5 separate regions of the Homo sapiens genome follow, and regions 1, 2, 3 and 4 are each linked to region 5. The links are contacts of gene promoters, found by promoter capture Hi-C in human tissues and cell types (Jung and others, 2019). All regions are on one chromosome and are shown on one strand. Each heading gives the region's core, a stretch centred on a gene start or on the middle of the fragment in contact. The rest is flanking DNA. Distances are from core to core; before and after follow the strand shown.

Region 1 (2,700 bases), core at 19-2,518, 570 kb after region 5:
GCTTTGCTTCCTTCAGAATAGGCCTGGCTAGTTGAAACACATGAACTACATACCTAATTTTAGATTTTCCAGTAGCCACATTAGAAAAAGTAAAAAGGAATGGGTTGACTTAAATTTAATAGTGTATTTTACTTGGCCCTATATATCCAAAATATTATTCTTGTTTCAATGAATAATCAATGTAAAATTTATCGAGAGATCTTTTTTTTTGCACTAAGTTTTCAAAATCTGGTGTACTTAAAACACATCTGAATTTGGGTGCTACATTTTCATCAGAAATACTTGATCTATAGTTTTATAGAGTCCATAAAACTGACAATTGAAAATGTGAATGCACATATCCAAGTTATTCCAGACATATTTAAAAGCTTTTTAATAACTGAATTGAGTCCCAAAAAATCAGCTCTAATATTCATGCTCCTATTAATAGAACTGGTTTATCTTTTTGAAATAAGATTAACTTTGAAGCAGATTGACTTTGAAGCAGAGTGAAAAGTAGTCCTACCAAACAAAGTTGTGTTTAGTGGCAACAGGCTTTATATTGCCTTCATTTTAAAATTTAAGTGGAAGTTTGATTAAAATTACATCAAAGTCGAAATTTACTTTCTCAATCCCAGTAGCCACATTTCAGCTAATCAATAGCCACATGCCCGGCTATTTTAGAATCTTTTAAAGTACTGTTGAATTGAAACAAACAATATAAACAGAGCAGAACTGCATAGTGATTTCCTCATGGTATTCGCTCTGTGGCTATTTTCACACTTTGTGTGAGTGTGTGTGTGTGTGTGTGTGTGTGTGTGTGTTTCTCCATTACCTACCTTCCCGATTCTTTTCCTTTTTTTTTTTTTTTTTTGAGACGGAATCTCACTCTGTTGCCCAGGGTGGAGTGCAGTGGCATGATCCTGGCTCACTGCAGCCTCTGCCTCCCAGGTTCAAGTGATTCTCCTGCCTCAGCTCCCGGGCAGCTGGGATTACAGGTGCTTGTCACCATGCCAGGCTAATTTTTGTATATTTTCAGTAGAGACAGAGTTTCACCACATTGGCCAGGCTGGTCTCAAACTCCTAACCGCAAGTGATTTGCTCACCTCTGCCTCCCAGAGTGCGGGGGTTACAGGCATGAGCCACCGTGCCAGGCCCCGATTCTTTATCTGAGATTCCAGCTGCTGTCTCTCTGCCTTTGAGTTGCATTCACTCCTGTCTCCTGTCTTTATGTCATTGTTTTCCACTTTTCCCTCCATCTACCTTTTTTTCTTCCTCTTTCTCCTCCTTTTGCATCTGATTTTCTTCTTGAACTAGGCACAAAGTCTATTTTTTAAATGTTCTTTTGTGTGTTGGCTAGCTTTAAATCCCCAGGAATAAAATAAGAGAGACAGTTTAGATTTTTCATTCACGTTAAATAAAGTAAAACTTAAACAAACCCCAAACAACCAAAGTCATGTGACCCTGGCTTGATTGCCTTTTTTTCGGGTCATTGACTAATGAAGGGGAGAATTGTCTCTTTCTCGGAGTCCATGCGAGGTCAGCCTGGGACTCTGTGTGTGGTTTTGCAGAGAGGGCCTCTGGGATGGTCACTTGTGGATTTTTGTTCTTTTGTTTTTGACTCCAACCGTTAACTTCTGCTTGGAGATTAAAAATGACACTGAAGTCTCTCAGCACTTCTGTCTTTGTAAGGGGTGGAGCGCGGTCAGCTCTGCTCTATGGGGTTATGGCAGCCATCAGAAGTAGGAAGAAGCCTCTTAACCAAGGATGTGAGATGCTGATGAAGCTGAGGGAAACGTCAGCAGGGGCTGGTGGTGTCCTCAAACGGAGACTGGAGGAAGGGGAGCAGAGGGGAGTGAGGCAGGAACCTCAGGTTAATTTGGGCCAGTAGAAGTGTGACCGTTACCAGGTCACTCTCCTCGCTGGGCCTCGGCTTCCTTCCTCCTTCTCAAATCCAGCTGCACTCTTTGTGGTTCCCCTACTGTACTGGCCCATGGGCCCAGATCTATTTTGCAGAACATTCTCGTTCTCATTGCCAGCCATGCAGCCAGTGACAGGGCTGAGAAGAGGTGAAGCCAAACATTTGTATTATTAAAAGTTATGAGGGGAAGGAAAGTAATAGTGGCGAGTGTATTTTCATGTTCCATTTCACTCCTGGAATAATTCAAGTCCGTGTGGACCATTTTTGCTTGACCTGTCAAGACCCAAACATGTATCCACCACTGAATACCCCTGTGTACCTGTGTCCTCCACAATGCCTGCCCTCATGACGGTCCAGTATTCATAGCCTTCCACTAGAGCTGGTAGAAGAGGCAAAACCGGGGCTGCGGACATTTTGGGGGAGCGTTTTGTGCAGTTCAGTCTTATTCAGTTTACCAAATGTTTCTCACGATTTTTTCAAACCTATATTTTTAGGCTGTTATTTTGCACCAGGTCCTGAGATAAGCATTGCATAAAGCTCAGCTCATTTACTTATGTGCCAGGGTAGACAGGTCCTTTAAAAAAATCCATACAGTTCCTTTCATCCAGAGCTTGGAAGTATGTCTATGTAACATAACTGACGGTGTAAAACGTAACTCACGAAACAGGTAACTGTGCAAAGCAGTGTTGTATTAAGTACCCAAATGATACTATGGCAAATAAATGCATCAGACATTCAGAGAAGGGAGAGATGACTTAGGACTAAAATTGAGCCTTGAAGGTAGCTATGACTGGGATAAC
Region 2 (2,700 bases), core at 79-2,578, 550 kb after region 5:
GCCTGGCTGGCAGAGGGAGGGAGAAGAGAGGAGAAGAGGAGGGAGGGAGCAGTGGGGATGGAGGAAGGGAGGCAGGAGACCAAGACTTTGTGGATGAGCAGGGACATTTTAGTGTCCATACCACTAGGAGGGACAAGAAGTAAAAATCCAGAACTGTCTCACTTACTGCAGACATGTGGATGACACACTTGGCTCCCTGTCCCCACAGCTCTTGATCTCTCACCACTGCCTGTGGGTTGGCTCAGTCTTAAGGGACCAGTCCTGACCCCAGGCTGGTGTATGGTGGGAAGCCCAGCGTGTCCTGGTGCTCTGGTGTGGATCTTGGGGCAGGACTCTTAACTTATGTTTCTTGGCTAAGCCCAACCCGGCCCCCCACACCTGGACTCTCCGGTGCCCTCTTCCTCACCCTCTCCCTTTCCAGAATTAGAGGGTCCTGCCCTTGAACCCCAGGGTCCCTGGTGCTGTCTAGACTCTCTCCAGCCACCCTGGGTCCTCCCCTCCCCACTGGCATCAACCTTCTCACCCTGAACTTGTGTTGGCTCTTTCCCTGATGGTACCTGCCTTCCCTTTCCCAGTGGACTCAGCTGGCCAGTTCTAGCCCAGCCTGCTCCAATGTAGAATGGCCACCTTCTGAACTTTCTTCCCACTCAGAACTCTCTGGCTTTCTCAGCCTGGGAGCTGCCTAGACACCTGGTCCGTCCTCCCCCAGCCATCCTTGTTATGAGAAGATGAATGCTGTGGACCAAAGGGCTTGGGATGAAACTAACAGTAATAACAACAGTAAGCACCTCTTTTTGTTCAGTCAGCTGTAATGCTGCTCAGAGGATCACTCGACGTTTCCTCCCAGGAGTCCCTCCCGTGTTGTTGTGGCTCCTTTGCAGATGAGGTAACCGAGCCAGTGGGAGGGGCTGCCTAGAGGTCCCATCTCAGACCTCAGAGGAATCCGAGGGTGAGGGCTCAGAATCCAGGCCTGAGCTCCAGTAGGGTCCCTCCAGCTATTTTTTTCTTCATGTTTTTGGCTGATGTTATGGAAAACAGCCTAATGAGGTAAACATCCCAGACATTAGAAGCTCAGGTCCCCTGCAGCATCAGCCATTTTCCTTCTCCCACATTCGCATCGGTGCTCAGCCAGTATGAGGCTCTTACTGTTTGCGATCTGTTGTTAGCTGCCTCTTGCTTGCAAGACTGGGATCCACAGGGGTCATCACTAGCAAGAAACCACCTCCTTGCCCCAGAACTAGAAAAACTTGGTAGCAAGAAGACTCAGCCAACAGCGTGTCATCATAGGTTGCCTTGAGTCCTGAAGTCTTTGCTTTTTGCAAACCATTCCTTGTGTCTCTGCCCCAACCCGGCCCCTGCAGAGAATCTTGTAAACCTTTCAGTATACCCACTGCCTTGTGCCTGTCCTCCCAGAGCTCTGGTGGTATTTATGCACCAGGCCAGGCAGAGAACACAAACCCCTTAATGTGATATTGCACCAAGATCTGTTCTTGCAGAAGTAACTCATGCCAGGACACTTCCTTTCCCTCTCAGCTTTCCTGCCTGTCAAAACTGACCTCTTATTTGTCCCATTCCCTCAGGTTTCTGTTGGAGAACAGGCTTACTGATTTGATGAACATGCTTGAGTTAGGGGGTTAATGTGTTCTTGGATTACCTTCCCTGGATAGCATTTTTATTTTTCAGGAGGCCTGCCCCAAGGAATGATGGCAAGGGAATTATAGGTAACGTAGAGACGCTTTAAAATTATGAATGTTGGGCCAGGCATGGTGTCTCGTGCCTGAAATCCCAACACTTTGGGAGGCCGAGACAGCTGGATCACTTGAGATCAGGGTTCGAGACCAGTCTGGCTAACATAGTGAAACTCGTCTTTACTAAAAATACAAAAATTAGCTGGGCGTGGTGACATATGCCATACTTGGGAGGCTGAGGCAGAGGCAGGAGAATTGCTTGAACCTGGGAGGTGGAGTTTGCAGTGAGTGGAGCTCGTGCTGCTTTACTTCAGCCTGGGTGACAGTGAAACTCCATCTCAAATAATAATAATAATAATAATAATAATAATAATAATAATAATAATAATAAAATAATAAATGCATGTGCATGTACAGCTGTGGGTCCCACCTACTTAGATAGCTGGCCTGGCTGGGGGTCAGTGATTAAAATGCGCTGTAGCATGGCTGCCTATACAAGGGCGCCCTCTACATGGATAAGAGGGAGAGTTTATTTTTGAGATGACCTAGGGGGAGGGAAGGGAGGAGGCCTGGAGTAGGGGTGGGAGGGAGTACAGTACAGCCTTTTCTGTTAAAAACATCCACGTCCTGAACAAAACCTAAGAACCACTGTGCTGGTATAATTACAGTCTTCAAGCCACAATTCATGTGAACGCACAGGTCCAATTTTGTGCTGGGAATTAGTTGGAAGTCTGGCCTGGAGGCATTCTCTCAGCTTCTGCAGATTGGAAGTGGTTTTCTTCTGGCTGAGCGCACTGATACGGACACCACACCATGAAGGAGAACTGGGAGAACAACCCCACTGTCCGCCTTCATCCATTTGTTCATTTGTTCATTCAATGGTTGTGGAGTGTCTGTTCTGTGAGAACCCCCATGTTGGGTGCTGGAGGGGATATTAAAAGGTATTCTGCTTCCCAAATTGGATGATATATTTCCAGGTGCCAACCAGGTAAGGGCTCAAATTACTTGTTGC
Region 3 (2,700 bases), core at 9-2,508, 980 kb after region 5:
AATGTTCTTTATCCTAATTAGTTCATTTATCCAAGAATACATGAATGTGATTTACAGCTGAGATGGGGTTCAACCTCAGCTGTATTCCTTGTTTCTGTATAGATGTAAGCACATAAATTCGATGGAATAGAATTACGTTAACAATGTTTTTACAGTTCTTTGGATTCCTTTGGCATTTTGACAAAGATCACAGTGCTCTATCATCAAGAATTATTAATGATGATCTATCAACTAACAAACAACTTGATTAGATTCTCCTTTAGTCTGTTGAAAGCAGAGAACTGAAATCCACCTGATTTACCATGGCTTTGCCAGCCAGTCATTAGCACCATTTACTTTTACTATCGCTGACATTTTCCTTTGTTCAGTGGCCCTGAGGTTCTTACACTCTAGGGGGCAGTGCACCACAGGAAGATAGATCAATGAGGGAGGATTGCGAGGGGGAAGGGGAGGAAGCAGAGCTGGCAGGCCTTAGCTACAGGCTCTCTCTCAGGCAGATCCCTTTTAAGATACATACACCATGCCCACACATCCCATGGAGAGAGACCAATGCTTTAGTAGATTACAGAACAGCTATGAAAAGTCCATGAATGAAGATCACAAAAAGGAAGGCTTTCTTATTTCATACTGTATTCTTCAGGGTGGTAAAATTTCTGCTTTTGGCAAAAACATAACAGACGGTTCCAAACATCAGCATAAAGATCACTCATCCCATACCACCCACAGGTAGGGAGGAAGGATGCTGTAGTATATGAAAACAAAAGTTTTCACCTGAGCTGAGAGCATTTAGCATATCGTGGTTCTGTAACAATATCAAGGACCAGTGCAGAATCTGGCTTTCTTTTCTGATAGGCTACCAGTGTGTGTTTATGTGTGCTCATTTTGTGGTTCTAATCATAATGGTACATATAATTAGGGAAGGATATGGAAGCCACTTTAGAATCTTATTCATTTTTAAATATAAATATGCCTTGTTTCAAACTTTGTTTTCTTGATTCAGGCTTTCTTTCCTGTGAGGGCTTGGTTTCCTTATTGTTGACTGCTTTGTTCTTTGCCTTGTCCTTCCCTATAAAGCCTGCATGGAAGACGTTTAATAGTGCAACTAAAAGAGAGTCAGCTGAGTGAGGCTTGTCAGCCAAAGCTGGAATGCTGAGCTATCTGGAGGAGATCCTAATAACCCAATTTGGGGATGGGGCCCAGGAATCTGCATTGGGAAGTCGGCCACCCTTCCCAGGTGATTGTTTAGTACAAACTTTTTGACAGATTAATTTCACTCAAATGCAAAGATTAATCCCAGCACTTTGGGAGGCCAAGGAAGGTGGATCACCTGAGGTCAGGAGCTCGAGACCAGCCTGGCCAACGTGGTGAAATCCCATCTCTACTAAAAATACAAAAATTAGCTGGGCATGGTGGCATGTGCCTGTAGTCCCAGCTACTCTGGAGGCTGAGGCAGGAGAATCGCTTGAACCCGGGAGGCAGAGGTTGCAGTGAGCCGGGATCGCACCACTCTGCACTCCAGCCTGGGTGACAGAGCAAGACTCCGTCTCAAAAAAAAAAAAAAAAAAAAAAAACCGTAGTTGCTTTCTATTAAGATAGGGTTTTAAATAAAGCTTTTTTCCTTTCCCTCACAGCTGTTTTGCACATATCTGGATGCAGTTATATTTCCTAAGTGCCAGTGCTTCACATATGTAACTGATGCATCAGTTCTCACAACAACCCTAGGAAGTAGCTACAGGTTGAGCATCCCTAATCTGAAAAGGCGAAATCTGAAATGCTCCAAAATCCGAAAGTTTTTGAGTGCCACCATGATCCTTAAAGGAAGTGCCCAGTGGAACATTTTGGATTTTGGATTTATAATGCAAAGATTCTAAAATCCTAAAACATCTGAAATCTGAAAATACTTCTAAGTCCCAAGCATTTCGAATAAGGGATACTCAGCCTGTAATAATATATGGTTACATAGCACAGAAAATAGGAACCTGACTTTGAATCCAGGCCATTTGATTTACAGAGCCACCGATAGCAATGTACTCTATACCGGTTCTAAATACATACTGTAACTCCCCAAGAGGTTAAAAATGAAATAAAAGTTTAGAATATACACATATACCAAATATATATCAAGTACATAAAGTTTTAAACTGAACTTTGATAAGAGAGTTTGTAAAGTAAAAGGGTGGTGGTCTCTGTGGGATTCTAGAAGTTTCCTGATGTAATTAAGGGTACACAGCCCTGGCTCTTCTGGGTGGCGCAGTTATTCCCAACTTTGTTTCCCATTACCTGGAGAAAGTTTGTCCAGACCGTGGCTTCTAGAAGGACAGGTAGCAGCTCCCCAATCTCCTCCATCATCACTGTAAGTGAAGTCAGGTTCAGCCCCCACAGGCTCTGCTCATGGAGTAGGCCACCATTCCTTCCTACCACAAACCACATTTCTCGGACTGGAGAAGGGATTGCAGCACGCACGTTCATGTTAAAATGTGAACTTTAATTGTAAAAATCATTTTCTGTAAATATAGTTATATCAACCTCTCTGCACACAACTTGGTTCAGATATATACAGATATGATATTCATAGATGTTATTTGTACCACAGAACAAAATCAATTCAAGAAACATTTACTTTTAGCTTCAGGATTAACCCCAGCTTTCTTTAGGCCTTAAAATTACCACCACTGGAAACAGAGAGAGAGCACGGCATAC
Region 4 (2,700 bases), core at 118-2,617, 860 kb after region 5:
GTCTGTAACCCCAAGCTTGTCTGTTCCATTTTCCTGTGTCACATAGCCTCTGCCAGTGGATTCAGTGCTATTTATACTGGGACTCTCATCCCAGTCCTAAATCTAGCATAGGAGCAGACAGATAGATGCCAAAAAAATACAGCAACGATTCATGATAAAAACTCCCAGAAAACTAGAAATGCAAGAAACTTCCTTAACCTGATGAAGAGCACCTATGAAAAATATATAGCTAAGATAACTCTTAACGGTGAGATTCAGAATGCTTTTCTCCCCAAATCAGGAACTAGACAAGAATATCTACTCTCACCAATTCTATGCAATAGTCCCCTTAAATACTAATTGATAATATAAAGAAATAAAGAGATAAAAAATATTGAGATTGAAAAGCAAAAAGTAAAACTGCCCTTATTTGCATATGACATGATTGCATACATGGAAAATCCTAACAACTACAAAATGTACTATACCAAGGAAGTGTATTTAGTAAAGTTACAGTATCCATTTTTTACATGAATGTAAAAAAAAAAAAAAAAGTATATCTAGGCTGGGAGCCATAGCTCATGCCTATAATCCCAGCACTTTGGGAGGCTGAGGTGGGCAGATCACCTGAGGTCGGGAGTTCGAGACAAGCCTGACCAACATGGAGAAATCCTGTCTCTACTAAAAATACAAAATTAGCCGGGCGTGGTGGTGCATGCCTGTAATCCCAGCTACTCGGGAGGCTAAGGCAGGAGAATCACTTGAACCCAGGAGGTGGAGGTTGCTGTGAGCCGAGATCGTGCAATTGCACTGCAGCCTGGGCAACAAGAGTGAAACTGTCTCAAAAAAAAAAAAAAAAGTAATCTAGGCCGGTCAAAGTGGCTCATGCCTATAATCCCAGCACTCTGGGAGGCCAAAGTGGGTGGATCACCTGAAGTCAGGAGTTCGAGACCAGCCTGGCCAACATGGTGAAACCCTGTCTCTACTAAATTTACAAAAAATTAGCTGGGCATAGTGGTAGGCGCCGGTAATCCCAGCTACTCGGGAGGCTGAGGCAGGAGAATCGCTTGAACCCAGGAGGTGGAGGTTGCAGTGAGCCGAGATTGCGCCATTAGTGAAACTCCATCTCAAAAAAAAAAAAATGTATATCTATATTCTAGTAATCAACAATTGGAAATGGAAATTTAAACAATACCATGTATAACAGTACTAAACAGTGGAAAACACTGAAATATATTTAACAAAATATGGTGCAAGACATGTACACTTAAACTTAAGAAACATTACTAAGAAAAATGAAATAATACCCAAATAAATGGAGATAAATACCATATTTATAAATCGGAAGACTCAATTTTATAAAATGATTAAATCTTAAATTGGTCTATAAATTCAACATAATCTGGATCACAAGCACAGTTTTATTTTTTGTAGACAAAAAATAAATTGACAAGATGATTCTAAACTCTGTATAGAAATTCGAAGGACTTAGAATAGCCAAAATATTTTGAGAAAAGAGAACAAAATTGAGGACTTAAACTAGCCAATTTCAAGACTTACTAAAGAGCCTTATTAATCACGATAGCATGGTATTGGCATAAAGATGGACATACAGATCAATAAAACAGAGTAAAGAATCCAGAAAAACTCCATACATACATGGTTCAATGATTTGCCAAGGTAAGTCAGTGGAAGAAAGGATGGCATTTTAAGAAATAATGTTGGGCCAGGCACCATGGCTCATGCCTGTAATCCCAGCACTTTGGGAGGACAAGGCGGGTGGACCACCTGAGGTCGGGAGTTTGAGACCAGCCTGGCCAACATAGTGAAACCCCATCTCTACTAAAAATACAAAATTAGCTGGGCATGGTGGCATGTGCCTGTAATCCCAGTTACTCAGGAGGCTGAGGCAGGAGAATCGCTTGAATACTGGAGGCAGAGATAGCAGTGAGCCGAGATCGCACCATTGCACTCTAGCCTGGGCGACAAGAGAGAAACTCCATTTCAAAAAGAAAAAAAAAAAAAAAAAGGAAGAAAAGAAAGAAAAGAAAAGAAAAGAAAAGAAATAACATTGGAACAACTGAAGAGAGGCATATGGGAAAAAGAACCTCAACCCCTACCTCACACAGTTCACAAATATTAACTTAAAATAGGTAATAGACCTAACCAAAAAATAAAAATAAAAATTATAAAACTTCTGCAAGAAAAAAAAAATCGGAGAAATCGGAATGATATTGCATTAAGCAAAAAACTCTTAAATGGGCCCTACAAATATGAACTATAAAAGAAAAAAAATCAATAAATTGTACTTCACCAAATGTAAAGCTTTTGCTTTTCAAAAAGCACTGTTATAAAAATAAAGCACAACATAGACTGGAAGAAAATATTTGCAAAATATATCTGAAAGGGATTTGTATCTAAAATATATAAAGAACTTTAACAATTCAATAAGAAGAATTTTTTAAATGGGCAAAACATTTCAACAGATGCTTTGTCAATATCTTCCACAGATGATTAGATATATTAGGATGTCTTCAGTTTTAAAACTAACATACCAAGTGCTGGTGAGGATGTGGAGCCATTGGAAGTCTCATATCCTGCTTCCAGGAATGTAAAGGAGTGCAACCAGTTTGGAAACTAGTTTGACAGTGTCTTAAGAAATTAAACACACTTACATAAAACCCAGCCATCACTTTCCTATGTATTTACCCAAAAGAAATA
Region 5 (2,706 bases), core at 14-2,513:
CGGAGCCTTTCCCCAAGGTCCAACACAATTGCCGAATTAATGCAGCCGAGGACACAGCATCCAGTTCCTACTCCTGCAGCCCAGTTACCCCCATCCAACACCACCCCCCTACCCAACCCCCGCTGAAAAGCGGACCTGTGTTCAGAACCTGCCTTCATACTTTTCAGCCATGCTCTTTGGAATAATGAAAGATACGAAGAAGTCAGTGGGAAGATAGACATGGGGAGGGGGACATAGAGGGTGCCTTTGCGTTTTGCTACCCAGGACCCAGGACTCAAGGGCAGGGTGGTCTTGGCCTGGGGTCGCCGTCCTCTTTAAGGGGCGGGTCAAGGGACCCTGGCTGCCCGGGCCTCTGCCACCGACCCTCTGCTCCCTCCGACCCTCACCGCCCAGCACCCAGCCCTCTGCCCCCACCGGCCACCCTGTAACAGCCCAGCGGGTTCACCTTGCCTGCTGCCTAGACAGAGCCGATTTATCAAGACAGGGGCATTGCAATAGAGAAGGAGTAATTCACACAGATCAGGCTGCGCGGGACACTGGGCAGAGTTTTTAAGGACAACTTGGTGGGTGGGGGAAGGCCAGTGAGTCGAGAGTGCTGATTGGTTGGGTCGGAGGTGAAATCTTAGGGAACTGAAGCTGTCCTCTTGTGCTGAGTTAGTTCCGGAGTGGGGGCCTAAGATCAGATGACCTGGTTTATCGATCTGGTAGGTGTCAGTTGATCCATCAAGTGCAGGGTCTGCAAAATATCTTGAGCACTGATCTTATTAGCAGTTTAGGGAGGGTCAGAATACTGTAGCCTTGCTGCCTGACTCCTAAATCATACTTTCTAATCTTTTGGTTAATTTGTTAGTCCTACAAAGACAGTCTATTCCCCAGGCAAGAAGGAGGTTTGTTTTCAGAAAGGGCTGTTATCATCTTTGTTTTAAACTATAAAGTATAAACTAAGTTCCTCCCAAAGTTAGTTCAGCCAACGCCCAGGAATGAACAAGGACAGCTTGGAGGTTAGAAGCAAGATGGAGTTGGTTAGGTCAGATCTCTTTCATTATCTGTTATAATTTTGCAATGGCGGTTTCAACCTAGTGGCCGAACCCGTCCCATCCATCTCCCGCGCCCCTCCGCTCCACCACAGCCCTCGGTGCCTCGGTTCCCTGCACCTGCACTCCCGCCCGCCCCCGACGCTCCGCCCCCGACGCTCCGCCCGCCCTCCACGCTCCGCCCCGCCCTCCCGGCCCCCGCCTGCGCCCGCGCCCTGGGCTGGTGCCCGCCACCCCAGCGATCTCATACTGGCCCCTGGGCGCACGGTGACCCTGCGGCTGCCCGGCCCCTGCCTCCGCCCGCGCGGCCCCCTCGCTCAGGTCGCGGGCGCCCGGGGCCTGGCTTCGCGTGGGTCCTGGCTCCTCCCGTTCCGCAGTTGGTGCCGTCTGACAGCCCCTTCCGCGCGGCGCGGCGCGGCGCGGCGGGTGTCGGGCGGGGCGCGGGCCTCCGGCCTGAGGCCCGGCGAGGTGCTGGAGGGAGCGGGGCGCGGATCCGGCCCAGATGGGCAGCTCCGTCCGCGGGGTCAGGGCCGGGCTTCGGCTTCACCGCAGCCTCGCCTGAGCGGGCGCCTCTGAAGTGGAGGGCGGGCCGCCTGGGCCGCGGGCCTCGGGAGGATGGTGGCGCCCTGGCGCGTCTCCGTCAGGGTTTGCCTGTCGCACCTGAGGTGCTTCGAGCTCAGACAGGGACTCAGCCTCCTGAGGCCCTCCGAGTGCCCTCGCGATGCCAGGCTCTGCTGGCTTCTGCTGGGCACTTTGCCCAAGGTCGTCTCCCTGTGCGGGGACGTGGGTGAGGGGGCCCCTGACGTTCTGAGTCGGCGAAGGGTCCGCTGCAGCGGGGCGGCTGGCGCGGGGCCCGCGGAGAGCCTCCCCCGAGCGGGACCTCTGGGCGGCGTCTTCCTGCATCTCCGCCTCTGGCTTCGCGCCGGCGCTCTGTTGGTGAAATTCTTCCCCCTCCTACTCCTCTACCCCCTCACCTACCTGGCTCCCAGCGTCTCCACCCTCTGGCTCCACCTGCTTCTGAAAGCCACCGAGACCTCAGGCCCAACCTACATCAAACTGGGCCAGTGGGCCAGCACCCGGCGCGATCTGTTTTCGGAGGCTTTCTGTGCCCAATTTTCCAAGCTGCATGTCCGAGTGACGCCCCACCCGTGGACTCACACTGAGCGCTTCCTTCGGCAGGCTTTTGGGGATGACTGGGGGAGCATCCTCTCTTTTGAGAACCGGGAACCTGTGGGCTCAGGCTGCGTGGCCCAGGTGTACAAAGCATACGCCAACACTGCCTTCCTGGAGACTGACAGCGTCCAGAGACTTGGCAGGGCCTCCTGTCTGCCGCCCTTCTCACATACTGGGGCAGTCGGTGGGCTGAGAGAGCTCTTTGGATACCTTGGAAATGGCCGGAAACCTCCAGAAAATCTCGCAGACCAGTCGTTTCTAGAAAGGCTGCTCCTCCCTAAAGCTGACCTGGTTGGATCAAATGCAGGGGTGTCTCGGGCTCAGGTCCCTGGCCACCAACCTGAGGCCACCAACCTCATCTCCGTGGCAGTGAAAGTAAGTGTTGTGAGAGCTCACAGCTCACCTACCCACTGAGCTATCCCAGATCAGAAACAACCGCCATGCAAATCGCCCCCACGTTTATTTCTATTTGCCTGACCAATATCTGAGTGCTTATTTC

What was found. Contacts are between HindIII fragments. The study calls those that stand out against the background at their distance.
Region 1: a fragment that was not itself captured here is called in contact with the fragment with the promoter of ADCK2 in region 5 in 1 of the 25 tissues and cell types used here (dorsolateral prefrontal cortex).
Region 2: a contact is called between a fragment that was not itself captured here and the fragment with the promoter of ADCK2 in region 5, in 1 of the 25 tissues and cell types used here (thymus).
Region 3: a fragment that was not itself captured here is called in contact with the fragment with the promoter of ADCK2 in region 5 in 1 of the 25 tissues and cell types used here (hippocampus).
Region 4: a fragment that was not itself captured here is called in contact with the fragment with the promoter of ADCK2 in region 5 in 4 of the 25 tissues and cell types used here (dorsolateral prefrontal cortex, lymphoblastoid cells, mesenchymal stem cells and 1 more).

The regions. Positions count from the first base shown.
Region 1 is chr7:141,241,707-141,244,406 of GRCh38, forward strand. The region is part of intron 2 of TMEM178B (transmembrane protein 178B); the gene reads left to right. Among named protein-coding and RNA genes, the nearest start is that of TMEM178B, 170 kb to the left of the region's middle. The HindIII fragment of the contact is 3,481 bases long and covers 1-2,700 here.
Region 2 is chr7:141,218,283-141,220,982 of GRCh38, forward strand. The region is part of intron 2 of TMEM178B (transmembrane protein 178B); the gene reads left to right. Among named protein-coding and RNA genes, the nearest start is that of TMEM178B, 150 kb to the left of the region's middle. The HindIII fragment of the contact is 6,566 bases long and covers 1-2,700 here.
Region 3 is chr7:141,654,264-141,656,963 of GRCh38, forward strand. It overlaps AGK (acylglycerol kinase), which reads left to right. Exons shown (of 16, transcript NM_018238.4): 16 at 1-981. It overlaps DENND11 (DENN domain containing 11), which reads right to left. Exons shown (of 9, transcript NM_001080392.2): 9 at 2,465-2,700. Among named protein-coding and RNA genes, the nearest start is that of DENND11, 47 kb to the right of the region's middle. The HindIII fragment of the contact is 3,669 bases long and covers 1-2,700 here.
Region 4 is chr7:141,535,492-141,538,191 of GRCh38, forward strand. The region is part of intron 1 of AGK-DT (AGK divergent transcript); the gene reads right to left. Among named protein-coding and RNA genes, the nearest start is that of AGK-DT, 15 kb to the right of the region's middle. The HindIII fragment of the contact is 4,128 bases long and covers 1-2,700 here.
Region 5 is chr7:140,671,682-140,674,387 of GRCh38, forward strand. It overlaps ADCK2 (aarF domain containing kinase 2), which reads left to right and starts at 1,264. Exons shown (of 8, transcript NM_052853.4): 1 at 1,264-2,582. The coding sequence starts at 1,650. RefSeq lists a silencer at 1,199-1,658. The HindIII fragment of the contact is 30,105 bases long and covers 1-2,706 here.